Regions from separate parts of the Homo sapiens genome. Here regions 2, 3 and 4 are each linked to region 1. Evidence: promoter capture Hi-C in 16 types of primary human blood cells and fetal thymus (Javierre and others, 2016). All regions are on one chromosome and are shown on one strand. The core of a region is centred on a gene start or on the middle of the fragment in contact, and the rest is flanking DNA. Distances in the headings are between cores, read along the strand shown.

Region 1 (3,410 bases), core at 315-2,814:
GTTTACCTCCAGCAGAGGGGAATCTTTATGGTGAGCAGACGGAGGTCTGAGGTGAGAGGAGTCCTCACTCTTCTTTCTTTATTTTTTTGACCTTGATTACCCTTTCACCAGAGGTTAAGGCTTTTATACAGAAAAAGCCAGAAAGACTCATAGTCTATGCCTATTTTCCATCTTGTGTCATCCCTCTCCTGGGGAAATGATTGCAGAATCCCTATTGGCATGAATTAAGGGGAAGAGAAAGGGGAAAAAAGTACATGGAGAAAAAAAGACAACAGCAGAGAATGATATCTCAGAGCACTGCTCCAGGCATAGCAGTTCCCTAGTAAATCTTGAAATCTCATCAAAATTGTGAGGGTTAGGCTGAGCAAGGTGGCTCATGCCTGTAATTCCAGCACTTTAGGAGGCCTAGGTGGGAGGACTGTTTTAGCTCAGGAGCTCAAGACCAGCCTGGGCAACATAGCAAGACCCACATCTCTCCCAAAAATAAACAAAAAAATTAGTTTGGCATAATGGCATGTGCCTGTAGTCCCAGCTACTCAGGGGGCTGAGGTGGGAGGATGGCTCACAAACCTATGTGAGGTAAGGCTGCAGTGAACCATGATGGTGTGACTGCACTCCAGCCTGGGCAACAAAGCGAGACCAAAAAAAAAAATGTTAGAATCAAGGGACAAAGTACATGTAAGAGGTTTAGAATAGCACTTGGTACAGGAACAGTGAGTGCTCAATAAATTATTATTAGGTCTCCTCCACCCAGGGTAGGACCTGGGTTTCTGTCCTGAATTGGGACTTCCAAGACAATCACTCCCACACTCAATGTAGTACAGAGCTCTGTGAGTGATCTCTGCCCATGTTCCCCAGGGACACTTCAGCCTGGGTGCTGGGCCTGTTTCCGGTTTTACTGGGGTGGGCTTAGAGCTGTACTTCTACGGGGTTCTCTTTCCTCTCAACGTTGGTTTCCCTCCCAACCCTCACCCCCAACCCCAGGAAGCTCAGTTTACAAGTGCGGTCGGTACCCTCATTTGGTGTTTTTATTGGCTTTTCTGATAGCCCCTGGACTAGACAATTACATTGAAATTCAGAAGCAGCATGCACTTTTTGGCATTGATGTCTTTAATTAAATTCAATAAGCACTTATTGAGCACCTAGAGTGTGTAAAATACTGTTCCTTTAAATACATTTAGTCCTGAACTGTTTTAGCTTCTTAGTTTGGATTAGTGCTGATCCATTTCTTAAAGGTTTTATGAAGCATAAATATCAAAATGGAAAAATATTTGCACAGTTCTTTGTAAATATAAACGTCTTGTGTGGATTATTGTTGCTACAGTATTAATATTAACTGCAGTAACAACACTGCTGCTTCCCAGACAGGCGGTAGAAAGCAGCTGTAGGCCAACAGGAGCCAGACTGAAGAGATCCAGGGAGGTGCCTCCAGCACGTACGGCCCACAAGGGGCGGAGTCTTAAGAAGCGTACCCAAGCCCCACCCCTTACAGCACCCCCTTCGTCAGGGCGGTGTAGGCGGTTACCATGGCGATGACGTCCAGAGGGCGGGGAGGGGCGGGGCTATGGAGAGGAGGAGGAAGATGGCGGGCGGGCTGCTCTGAAGAGACCTCGGCGGCGGCGGAGGAGGAGAGAAGCGCAGCGCCGCGCCGCGCCGGGGCCCATGTGGGGAGGAGTCGGAGTCGCTGTTGCCGCCGCCGCCTGTAGCTGCTGGACCCGAGTGGGAGTGAGGGGGAAACGGCAGGATGAAGTTCGCCGAGCACCTCTCCGCGCACATCACTCCCGAGTGGAGGAAGCAATACATCCAGTATGAGGTACCGGCACGGCTGGGGTGTGGGAGGACTCGGAGGGGCCACCATCTCGCCAGTCCTGACGTCCACCGCCGCCTTCCGCTTCAGCTGGCTCCCTGTGCCCGGGCAGACTTTGACCCGCTGCCGCGGGGAGCCACTGCGGCATCCCCGCCGCGGCCGGCCGCCTCCCGGCTCCGCTGTCCTTCCCCTCCCCCGCAGCCCCGCTGCCGCCGGGGTAACGGATATGCAGGCGGAGGGCCGGGAGGAAAGGCGCTGCCCGGGCCGGGGCCGGGGCCGGGGAACGGTGGGAGGGTGAGCTGCAGGTGGGGGAGTCACGGTGCGAGGGCAGCCCCGGGTCGCGGCTGTTCCGCGCTAATCCCCTTCTCCCCACTCGCCCTGACCTCTCGTCCCCACCCTGGGCGAGCGCCCCCTCGCCAAGGTTAGGTCTTGTTTCTCTCTCTACACCTCTCACCAAGGAATCCTTGTCTTCCAAGAGAAGCCCCTCCAGTGATTTCCTTCATTCCAAAGAGCCCTTCGGCTTTTTCCCACTTGCCCACTGTTGACAAAGGCTTTGTAACGGGGTTGAAACTTGACTTAAGTGTGTATCACATATGTAGTGGTTATAGTTTTTGTAAACACGTTGTAATCAACTATTCTGCTTTGATAATAAGACTCTTTTTACTGATTGCATGAAGTCTACAGAGTAATAACATCTTTGTTTTTGCCTCTTGTTTTGGAATGGAGGGAAGAGAAAGGAGAGAAGAGAATTATTAACATTTTTTTATTTTCTGCTAAGTTTTTGCTAGCTGGGGAGAAAATTAGTATATTGTAAACAATATACCTTACCTGTGTATTACAGAAATCATGCTCCCCATTCCCTCCCAATTTCTGTGCTAACACTGCTGGAAGGTATTTAATAGATAATAAGGAACCTTACATTAATAAAGGGAAAAATAAAGATAATGAACCCATTTATATGTTCAGAAGACAAGATACCTAAGAGGCTTTAAGCATTGCAATAGGTTATTCTCAGTAGCTGGCAATTCAGCTCCTGGATAGAGAAAGACAGACTTATCTGTAACCTCCAGGAATTCACATCTGTTTTGTGTGCAGGAACAAAGAATATAAAATCAATATGAACACACATAACTTAGCTAGATTTTATGAATTAAACTATTTTAGTTCTCCATTTAATTTTTATATAAGTTTAGTGATAGGAGGTTTGGGCAATAGCAGTGAGTGTATTTATTCATATAGCCATTGTAATAATTGAAGAAGACAGGGAAAGAGATGCAGGTAGGTTAAACGGAATCTTGAATATTGTGAAATAAATTCACTTGCAACCTAGAGTATTTCATTATTGCTAGAAATGAAAGGCCTATAATTATTAATGCTTTATTGTCACTCAATTTCTTACAGTATTTTGTGGCCATGTTTTGTAAGAATGAGTGAAATAAGGGACTAACATTTCAGCCTGCAGAGTTGATTTATTGTTTCTAATAACATTTAGTTTTAAAACCTTGGCTAGAATCCAAGTGATGGTTTTTATTGAAAGAAGGGTATTGGTCTTTCATCTTTCTAGTAGTAATTTTCAGCACCACTGCCAGTTCTTCACAGAGGC
Region 2 (3,410 bases), core at 393-2,892, 210 kb after region 1:
AGCTTAAAAACAGCTTTAATCCATTCTTGCTTATGCATCTGTAGGTCAGCTGGGAATTGACTGGACTAGGCTGGGCTCGGCTGGATAGCCTTCAGGCTGCTATTCTGGCAGGGTTTGGCTCCTCACTGCAGGTTGGGTTTGGGTCTATTTCATGTGTGTTCATTCTGGCGCTTCAATTGAAAGAGCAGCCACTTAGCCAGGGGAAACTTCACATGGCACTGACAGAAACAAGACCTATTACACAAATTTTAAGCCTCTGCTTGCTTCATATCTGCTATCCTCCAAAGGCCATTGCAACTGCTAGGCCAAAGCAAGTCACCAAACCCTACATTAATGGGGCAAGAAAGTATACTTCTGCCATGGAAACAGGGATGGGCTGAAAGGGAGAGAAGAGTTTTAAAATGTAATCTAATCTACTGTGATACAGAAAACAATTTAAACTGATTTGTCTAAAGTGGCAAAGGACTTAAAACAGTTAATTTTGTAGAATAAACATAACTAATAAACATGAAAAATTTTCCACTTTGGTAATAAAAACAGAAATATAAATTAAAATAATATTTAATCAAAGAAGTGATGATGCCTATCACTGGCAAGGGTACGGAGAGATGAAAACTCATTCTGTTGGTAGAGTATAAATTTGTAAGCAATTTGGGAATTCTCTCGAATCTTAAAATCATTCATACCTTTTGACCTAGTAAGTACCTTTCCACAACTTTTTCCTAAATAGAGAATTGGGCAAAAATGAATGTATCTTTGTAACATTATATAGTAAAAAACTGAAATAATCTAACAAATGTTCAGCAATAGGAGAATAGCTTACTTACAGTAACTGCATAGTATATGAAATATTATACAGTGGCTTGTTAAAAGTCACACAGTGGACCTGCAAATAGTAGATGAAGAATAATGACTGTGTGTGTGTGTGTCTGTTTTCACAGATGGTCTTGCTCTGTCACCCAGGCTGGAGTGCAGTGAGTAGCTTGGTCATATCTCACTGTAGCCTCAAACTCCTAGGCTCATGGGATCCTCCCACCTCAGCCTCCTGAGTAGCTGGGACTACAGGGTCGTGCTACCATGCCCAGCTAATTTTTATTATTGTTTTTAGATACAGGGTCTCACTACTGTTGCCCAGGCTAGTCTCAAACTCAGTCTTCCAAAGCTGACCTGAGCCTGCTGACACACTTAAATTAAGAGCAATGTGGACTCGGCCAAAATACGAAAATAATTTCTCTCTGCCAGAAAATCGAAAGTCATTCTTGAATTGGAGGGAAACAAAACTAACATATTAATGTTGTTTCAAGTGATGGCAGAATCATTTGACATGATTAATTTGCTTAGTGTTGTATCCTTTTTTAGGTCTTAAGAAATATCAAGGGGGCTGGGCACGGTGGCTCACGCCTGTAATCCTAGCACTTTGGGAGGCCAAGGCAGGCAGATTACCTGAGGTTGGGAGTTCAAGACCAGCCTAGCCAACATGGCAAAACCCTGTCTCTACTAAAAATTATAAAAAATTAGCCAGGTGGAGTGGCATGCACCTGTAATTCCAGCTACTCGGGAGGCCAAGGCAGGAGAATCGCTTGAACCCAGGAGGCGGAGGTTGCAGTGAGCTGAGATCACGCCACTGCGCTCTAGCCTGGGCTACAGAGTGAGACTTCATCTCAAAAAAAAAAAAAAAATGTCAAGGGTAGTTAGGGTAATTTGTTAAAGCTGGCTAGCAATTTTCTCAATTTATATTGTTAATAAATAAGGAATGTTGTGAGCATGCTTTTTAGAATGTAATGAACGAAAGACCAGTGGGCTAATGTTGAATTTCTTGTTTGTTTGTTTTTGTTTTTGTTTATTTATTTATTTTTTTTTTGAGATGGAATCTGGCTGTGTCACCCATCCTGGAGTGCAGTGGCACGATCTCAGCTCACTGCAACCTCTGCCTCCCAGGTTCAAGCAATTCTCCTGCCTCAGCCTCCTGAGTAGCTGGGATTACACACGCCCACCACCACACCCAGCTAATTTTTGTATTATTAGTAGAGATGGGGTTTGACCATGTTGGCCATGCTGGTCTCAAACTCCTGACCTTACCTCAGGTGACCTGCCTGCCTCGGGCTCCCAAAGTGTTGGGATTACAGGTGTGAGCCACGGTGCCTGGCTAATACTTAATTTCATTGATACTTTGGATAGGTATAAGATACGGTTTTCATGAAAATATTCAGAGTGAAGAAACTTTTCGTACACTACACACAATATTTTCTTCACATAGTAAAAAAAAAAAAAAATGATGCCACTTAATAGGAAGGAAAATAAAACATCTACCTAAATATCTCATTGATAAGTAGCATTTGTATTTCTACTTGTTCCTCTCCTGTGGGCTCCTCAGGCCTCTCTCTAAATACTTTTTAGTTGCTTCTGAATAATACCCCAGAACATCTTTCTTTTAAAGGTAGAATTGTACTACTTGTAACTATTTTATCCTTACCAGGAATCTTCTCAAACGAAGTAAATATCTCCCAAAGTAGAATGTTGAAGTCTACACAACACATTTCATAGCTGGTATAGAAAAGACTGAATCACTGAAGAAAATTAGGCAGAAACTCTAAGATCTGTTATATAGTCTTCTCACTTATGAATATTAGACTAATTCTGTTTCCTTTCTCAACTGAAAAAGTTGATATTTGAAATTAATTTTTAAATCTGTCATTAAACTTTCTATTGCAGAAAGTAGTATTTCTTACCTAAAGAGCAAAATACTTAGCTCTTCTCAATTTAATCAACCCTTCTTCCAGTAAGAATTTTAAAAGCACCATCTTAGTGAAAGGCACGTTTTCACATTGAGAACTAGAATGTGGGCTTTGGAGTTAGGACTAGGTTAATTTAGCCACTTACTAATTATGTTACCCTGAGAAAGTGACTAGATTTCTTTGATTTAAAATTAGTAAAATTGAGAGAATAATTCCCACCTCATAAGTTTATTATAAAGATTAAGTTGTGTAAATACACTATAACTGGTGTTAATTGGTATTGATATCCTCTCCACCATCTGTGATGAAAGCGTGAAAAAACTCACATGCAAAATATTAGGGAAGGGATTTTCATTATAGATGTGGAAGAATTTAAAATAATTATGAGTAAATGTCTAGATAAAATGGACCATTTATTTTTAGGAAATTAGAAATTAACAAGATAAATGCAAGAAGGCAGACACTCTAAATTATGGACTAAGAACTATTGCAGGAATAGGGAAAGTTGTCTTTGAAGTGTCAGACCACAGTTTTTTCACAAGTGAAACTTTGTAAAACCTTTCAAACCTTCAAGGAATGGTTTGTGCCATTTAAACCGTTTGGAAACGTAGAAGGAAAGCATCTTATTTCTCTTTACAAAACTAGCATAATTCTGAAAAATATCACACTCAATAA
Region 3 (3,410 bases), core at 387-2,886, 190 kb after region 1:
CACTGAATTGCTAGCTCTTAGAATGGTGTCAGGTGTAATAGGCACCTAATCAATACTTGTCAAATGAAGGAATAAAGTTTCCTCAAGTAAAAGGAAAAAGAAACTAATATATACTGAATACTCATAATGAGCCAAACGTTATTCTAGGCATTTGATATATGTTGTTCACATTTAATCTTCTTAATAAACTTATGAGAATAGATATTATCCCCATTGATCAACAAAGAAACAGAGACTTTAAAAAAAAATAAATAATTTGGCATCGCTAGGATTTGAAATCTGGTCTGTAGTACTTGATTCCAAAGCAAAGGCTTTCTCTACCGTGTTATTTTAAAATTATTAAATCTTCTATATACTACAGAGAATACAAAGGTAAACAATAAATGGTTATTTAAGTATATAAATTAGTATATAGGCTGGGCATGGTGGCTCACTCCTGTAATCCCAGCACTTTGGGAGGCCGAGGAGGGCAGATCACCTGAGGTCAGGAGTTCCAGACCAGCCTGGCCAACATGATGAAACCCCGTCTCTACTAAAAATACAAAAAATTAGCTGGGTGTGGCGTCACGCATCTGTAATCCCAGCCACTCAGGAGGCTGAGGCAGGAGAATCGCTTGAACGCGGGAGGCAGAGGTTGCAGTGAGCCAAGATGACACCACTGCACTCCAGTCTGAGCGACAGAGCAAGACTCCATCTCAAAAAAAAAAAACAAAAGTTTGTATGTAATTAAATTCCAAATGAGCAGTACTGTCAATAAATTTTATAGTTATTTGGAAAATCATTAGACCAAATGGAAGTGTTTCTCATACAGTGGGCTTAAAACGAAATATGTTGATTCAGTGAATTTATGAACAGGTAAGGATCCAGGATCTGTCTCTTAAATAGTAAGTAGAATTTGAATTAGTGGAGAGAAAGAACAAGGCCATTTTAAGTAGAGGGAACAACATAAGTAAATGTGAAAAACAAACTTATTAAAAGGATAATAAAATTCATCACGAGTCAAGAGTTAATATTTTAGGGGTGCTGCGAGATAAGTTTGGGAAAAGTGAGTTGGTGATTAGATTATGAAGAATTTGAATTGTGAGGCTAAGGTATCTAAAGTATTTGAACATTATAATTACTGGCGAGCCATAGAATAATGATATTGAACATTTGTGTGGACATAATGGGCAATAGAATGTAGTGCTTAAGAGTATGAACTTTGGAGCAAAACTGGGTTCAAATTCTAGCTTAGGTCAGTAACTAAGCAAATGACAACCTCTCTGTGCTCTAGTTTCCTAATCAAATGGAGATAATGGTTTTTAACTCAAAGAGCCATTGTGATGGTTAAATGAATTACCAATTATTCTATGTAAAAATACTGAGAACAGTGCTTAGCACATAGTAAGCATTCCGTAAATATTAACTGTTGTCATTTATATGACATTTAAATTTTCACACTACTTTCATGTGTACTGTTCCTTCTCATTTTCATGGCAACTCTGTGAGGTAGATATTACTATATCCAGTTTAATAATGGAGTAAATGAAGCCAAAGAGAGGTTTTGTCATGCCGGATCCCCAAATGACAGAACTGATCACATGATTCTAAGCCACTTCACCATGATTCTTTGTAATCTAAAAAACTAATAGAACAATGGGATGACATGCTGAAAGTCAAGTTTTGGGAAATTATTCTAGTGACATTCTGCAGAGTAAAATGAAGACGAGAAAGAACCCACAGGCGACTTTTTAAGGCTCTTAAAATAATCTAGGTTTGGCCAGGCGGGGTGGTTCATGCCTGTAATCCCAACACTTTGGGAGGCCAAGGTGGGTGGATCACGAGGTCAGGAGATGAAGACAATCCTGGCCAACATGGTGAAACCCTGTCTGTACTAAAAATACAACAATTAGCTGGGCGTGGTGGTGCGTGCCTGTAATCCCAGTTACTCGGGAGACTGAGGCAGGAGAATCGCTTGAACCAGGGAGTCGGAGGTTGCAGTGAGCCGAGATCACGCCATTGCACTCCAGCCTGGCAACAGGGTGAGACTGTCTCAAAAAAATAAATAGGTAGATAGATAGATAGATAGATGATAGATAATCTAGGTTTAGGTTTTATTTATGAAAAATTTCTATGCCAGGGCTATATCATTGAGAATGAAGACAAAAGATTATTAATTCAAGGGAAGTTATGAATTTTATAACTGACCAATATCTTAATATTCTTTCAGCTGTATTTAAACTTGAAACAGATAGAAGTATATGGCCCTTGATAAGAATCTATCGGGGTGGCTTTCTTCTGATTGAATTCCTTTTTCTACTGGGCATCAACACGTATGGTTGGAGACAGGCTGGAGTAAACCATGTACTCATCTTTGAACTTAATCCGAGAAGCAATTTGTCTCATCAACATCTCTTTGAGGTAATCAAAGCAAGACATAACACCTCATGAATATAGTTTGCATTAGCTATATAGCTATCTGGTTTAGTGGGTACTTAAATCCATCCTCTACTTGAAGAGGATTATTAGCTTAATAACTAATCATGTTTCTTACTTTTGTTTTATTAAAGATATTTTAAGTAATGGTAAAAGTAAAAATAACAATTTTTCTCTATCTTTCTGTCTTCCCCATCCTTTACTAGATTGCTGGATTCCTCGGGATATTGTGGTGCCTGAGCCTTCTGGCATGCTTCTTTGCTCCAATTAGTGTCATCCCCACATATGTGTATCCACTTGCCCTTTATGGATTTATGGTTTTCTTCCTTATCAACCCCACCAAAACTTTCTACTATAAATCCCGGTTTTGGCTGCTTAAACTGCTGGTAAGTCCAGAAACTTGTGTACCACTTTTAGAGTGGCATATTGGTTATTGACTTCCTCTAAGATAAAACCAAGGCTGCTAGGTTGTACAACTGCAGAGGCCGTGGTTCACATTATAGTTTATGTGAGTGGAGGCCCTGGGAAAAAGTACTCACGTATATTTTCCTCCTGAGATCGAGTATCAGGTGGCCAAATATTGAGATGATTTTGTAAATTATAAACATTTTTTACTTCGTTTAACTAGCTGTGATAAGATGTAGAACTTTGTAAGTTTCCTTCCCCCAAAAAAATGTGGTAAAAGAATTATTTTCCTGTTAAGTTGATGTGAGTATCAACCGAACATTTTATTTTAGGAAAGATTTGTTCTCTAAAAGCAGTAGGAATATCTTACCAGATTATCAAGTTTAATTTGAAAAATTGACTTTGGGCTGGGCGCGGTGGCTCACGCCTGTAATCCTAGCACTTTAGGAAGCCAAGGCGGGTGGATCATCTGAGGTCAGGAGTTTGAGACCAGCCTGACCAACATGGTGAAACCCCGTCTCTACTAAAAATACAAAATTAGCTGGGGGTGGTGGCCCATGCCTGTAATCCTAGCTACTAGGGAGGCTGAG
Region 4 (3,410 bases), core at 235-2,734, 140 kb after region 1:
GAGCTAAGAACTTAATTTTCTTTATTTGGTTATGTTGCTGTGAAATCAGAATAAAAGAGAATATTGCAGGAATTTTGCAACAAAGATGTAGTTTATGGATGTTAAAGAATTAACAAAGGATAACCCATATCTGGATTTTTTAATACTTTTTTTAAAAAAAGAAATCTGTCTTTCCTATCTTTTTTTTTTTTTTTTTTTTTTTGAGATGGAAGTCTTGGTCTGTCGCCCAGGCTGGAGTGCAGTGGCGTGATCTCGGCTCACTGCAAGCTCCGCCTCCCGGGTTCATGCCATTCTCCTGCCTCAGCCTCCCTAGTAGCTGGGACTACAGGCACCCGCCACCATGCCCAGCTAATTTTTTTGTTTGTTTGTTTTTTTGTATATTTAGTAGAGATGGGGTTTCACCGTGTTAGCCAGGGTAGTCTCAATCTCCTGACCTCGTGATCTGCCTGCCTCGGCCGCCCAAAGTGCTGGGATTACAGGTGTCAGCCACCACGTCTGGCCTGTCTTTCCTATCTTTTTATATCTGACCAATATTGATGTTCATCATAAATGTGTTTTCTCTTTAGCTATATGTCTTAGTCCATCCTTTCTGCTATAACAAAATACTTTAGTCTGGGTAATATATAAATAATAGAAATTTATTTCTCATAGTTCTGGAGGCTGGGAAGTCCAGGATCAAGGCACCAACAGACGTAGTGCCTGATAAAGGCTTGCCTTCTGCTTCCAAGATGGCATCTTGTTGTTGTGTCCTCTGGAGGGGTCCAACACTATGTCCTTACATGGCAGAAAGGATGAAAGGGACTAGGGAGATTTCTTCAGCCTCTTTTATAACGTCACTAATCCCATTCACCTAAACACCTCTTAAAGCCCCACCTCTAAATACTATGGCATGGGTGATTAAGCTTTATCATGAATTTGGGGGGACACATTCAAACCACAACATTACATATATGCTTGGCAGTTTGGAGAGAAATGAGATGGTTACCTGCCTATCATTCTTTGAAAGCTTTTTCCCTGGAGTAAGTCACCAGAGTAGTTAAGACTCTTATGGTTCATTGTTTTACTCATCTTTGCAACAGTGAGACTGAGCAGTCAGGGCCGAGCACCATGGCTCCCACCTGTAATCCCAGCACTTTGGGAGGCTGAGGCAGGGGGATCCCTTGAGCCCAGGAGTTTTGAGACCAGACTGGGCAACAAAGCAAGACCCTGTCTCTATATAAAAATGAAAAAAAATTGAAAAAAAGACTGAGAATTCAGTTAAGTTAATAATAGTATTCATCTTGGATTATCCTCAGATATCTTTTGTTTGCTTTGTTTATTGTAACTTCAGTCTTAATAATAATTTTGATCTGTTGCTTTGCAAGAGTGAAAAAGAACTAGGATTACTAATAGTTTAGTTAAAAGTGGATCTAACTAGATAGATTTACTTAACAAAATGACTTTAAATAATGGTATACTTTGTGGTATATAAAGTGATTAATTAGCTAACAGAATTAGAAAATAAAAGGCCTTCAGTTAAAAATACCTAATTCTCTTGAAACTGTCATCTGTATACAAAGTAGTATTTTGTCATATTTGTTAAATGGAGAAGAGTGCTGGAAAAAAAAATCCCCTTTTTATTGTCCTTTAAGAGAATTCATTTCCAGATTTATATCCAGATATATGTGGATATATTCATTTACATATGTACTAATTCCTGAAATTGATTGGTCTGAATAATTAGTCTACAGTCAAGAAGTCCTCTTTCAAATTGCCTTTCCTTGACTTTATAAAAGAAAGGCTTGTCTCTTACGCAATCTAAATTTTGCTGTGATACGTTGTTGCCATTTTGGATCCCAAACAAAGGAATTCTCTGAAATACTCAAATACTCATTGTAGGTATTAAGAAAGTGAGTAACAGGGTAACAAATCCTTTGCAAGTCCAGTTTTTTGTTTTCACTGAAACTGAAAGAAGACTTAATTGTAAGCTTATTTATCATTAAAATTAATTTTCAATAATCACCATGTGGCTTTTGGAAAATACATAGGCATTCAAAGATTGACATTGCTGCAACAAACTTTCATTCTGATCTACTTATTTATGTTAACAATATTTCTTAACATTTATGTCTATAAGATGAAACCAAATACATAAAGTAGTTATTGAATTAATTCAAGTAGTTATTGAATTATTATGGCATTTAATTTCCATTATAATTTTGGAAATTGTATAATTGTATAATTATACAATTGGATTGTATAATGGAATAATTGTATAATGGAAATTATACAATTTCCATTATACAATTAAAACAAAGTCCTTGTATTTTAAAATGTAAATGATTGCAGGGTACCAGAAATTACATTGTTTATAATTATTTAAATGTGTTCAAAATCAGTTATCATGACTTAACAATTGCAAGATAGTTATTCAAAATTATTTTAGAAGTTACAAGGGCAAAAATCATTTGAAAACCACTGTTACATTCCTCCCACTTTACTAATGAATTATGCCCTTGTTTGAATTATTTATTGATATTTCATTTATTGTTGTTCTTTACCTAGCAGACATTAGGTAAATACTCATTGGGATAATAAATAGCTTGGATTGTATTGTATCTAGTGCCAGTGAGATTGATTTTTTTCTCAATTACATGTCACTGTTATAAGTGAAAAGACTTTTTTGTGTGTGTTCTACCAAGAATATTTTAAACACATTTAGTTAAACCTCACCTGATAAAACCTTAAGATAGACTCAGATCAGAAAATCTTGTGTAGGGACTACTTAAGCCTAGTTATATTCAGAATCATTTTGCAGAAATTAGCAGTTTTAGTTAGAAATTTGCAATTAGGAAAAGACTTAGAGATTACCTATTCAAATGCCCTTATTTTTCAAAGTGAAAACAGGCCTAGAGTGTTACTTGCTCAAGCTAATATAGGTAGTTGGCAACAGAACCATATCTAGTCTGCACTAAAACCTACTGATTTTACCTCCAGAATATCTTTTGAATTTTTTCACTTCTCTGTCTCCAGTGCCCTCACCCTAGTTGAGGCTATTGTGATCTCTCCCGTGGTATCTACTGTACTACGTCTCACTGGTCTCCCGACAACCTTATTTAGAAAGCATATTTGATCATACTATTCTCTCTGCTTAAAATCCTTCAAAAATGTCTCATTGGTCTCAGGAAGAAGGCTAGTCCTTTATTCTACCCTTTGTATATTTGTGAGATTATTTGATTAAAGTTTTTTTCCTCAGATAGACTGTAGACTGTAATGTCAAAGGGCAGAATTTATGTTTATTTTGCTTATCGCTGTATCCCTACCCCTGCCACATTGCCTGGTACATAGGAGGGACTTGGTACTTGTTGAATGAATGACTCCTGATTTAGCTCTATTTCTACTACACCAGTGATTTTAGAGTAACATTTTTT

What was found. The method cuts DNA at HindIII sites, captures the fragments that hold promoters and counts their contacts. A CHiCAGO score of 5 or more calls a contact.
Region 2: a fragment that was not itself captured here is called in contact with the fragment with the promoter of XPR1 in region 1 in 6 of 17 cell types (erythroblasts, megakaryocytes, M0 macrophages and 3 more); the score reaches 10.5 in erythroblasts.
Region 3: a fragment that was not itself captured here is called in contact with the fragment with the promoter of XPR1 in region 1 in 1 of 17 cell types (erythroblasts); the score reaches 6.0 in erythroblasts.
Region 4: a fragment that was not itself captured here is called in contact with the fragment with the promoter of XPR1 in region 1 in 2 of 17 cell types (erythroblasts and naive B cells); the score reaches 5.3 in erythroblasts.

The regions. Positions count from the first base shown.
Region 1 is chr1:180,630,458-180,633,867 of GRCh38, forward strand. XPR1 (xenotropic and polytropic retrovirus receptor 1) reads left to right here and starts at 1,565. Exons shown (of 15, transcript NM_004736.4): 1 at 1,565-1,813. The coding sequence starts at 1,745. RefSeq lists enhancers at 1,429-1,929, 1,930-2,430 and a silencer at 1,925-2,304. The HindIII fragment of the contact is 29,339 bases long and covers 1-3,410 here.
Region 2 is chr1:180,844,599-180,848,008 of GRCh38, forward strand. The region is part of intron 11 of XPR1 (xenotropic and polytropic retrovirus receptor 1); the gene reads left to right. Among named protein-coding and RNA genes, the nearest start is that of LINC02816, 60 kb to the right of the region's middle. The HindIII fragment of the contact is 8,768 bases long and covers 1-3,410 here.
Region 3 is chr1:180,822,544-180,825,953 of GRCh38, forward strand. XPR1 (xenotropic and polytropic retrovirus receptor 1) reads left to right here. Exons shown (of 15, transcript NM_004736.4): 8 at 2,210-2,400; 9 at 2,622-2,801. Among named protein-coding and RNA genes, the nearest start is that of LINC02816, 82 kb to the right of the region's middle. The HindIII fragment of the contact is 4,014 bases long and covers 1-3,410 here.
Region 4 is chr1:180,774,206-180,777,615 of GRCh38, forward strand. The region is part of intron 2 of XPR1 (xenotropic and polytropic retrovirus receptor 1); the gene reads left to right. Among named protein-coding and RNA genes, the nearest start is that of LINC02816, 130 kb to the right of the region's middle. The HindIII fragment of the contact is 961 bases long and covers 1,005-1,965 here.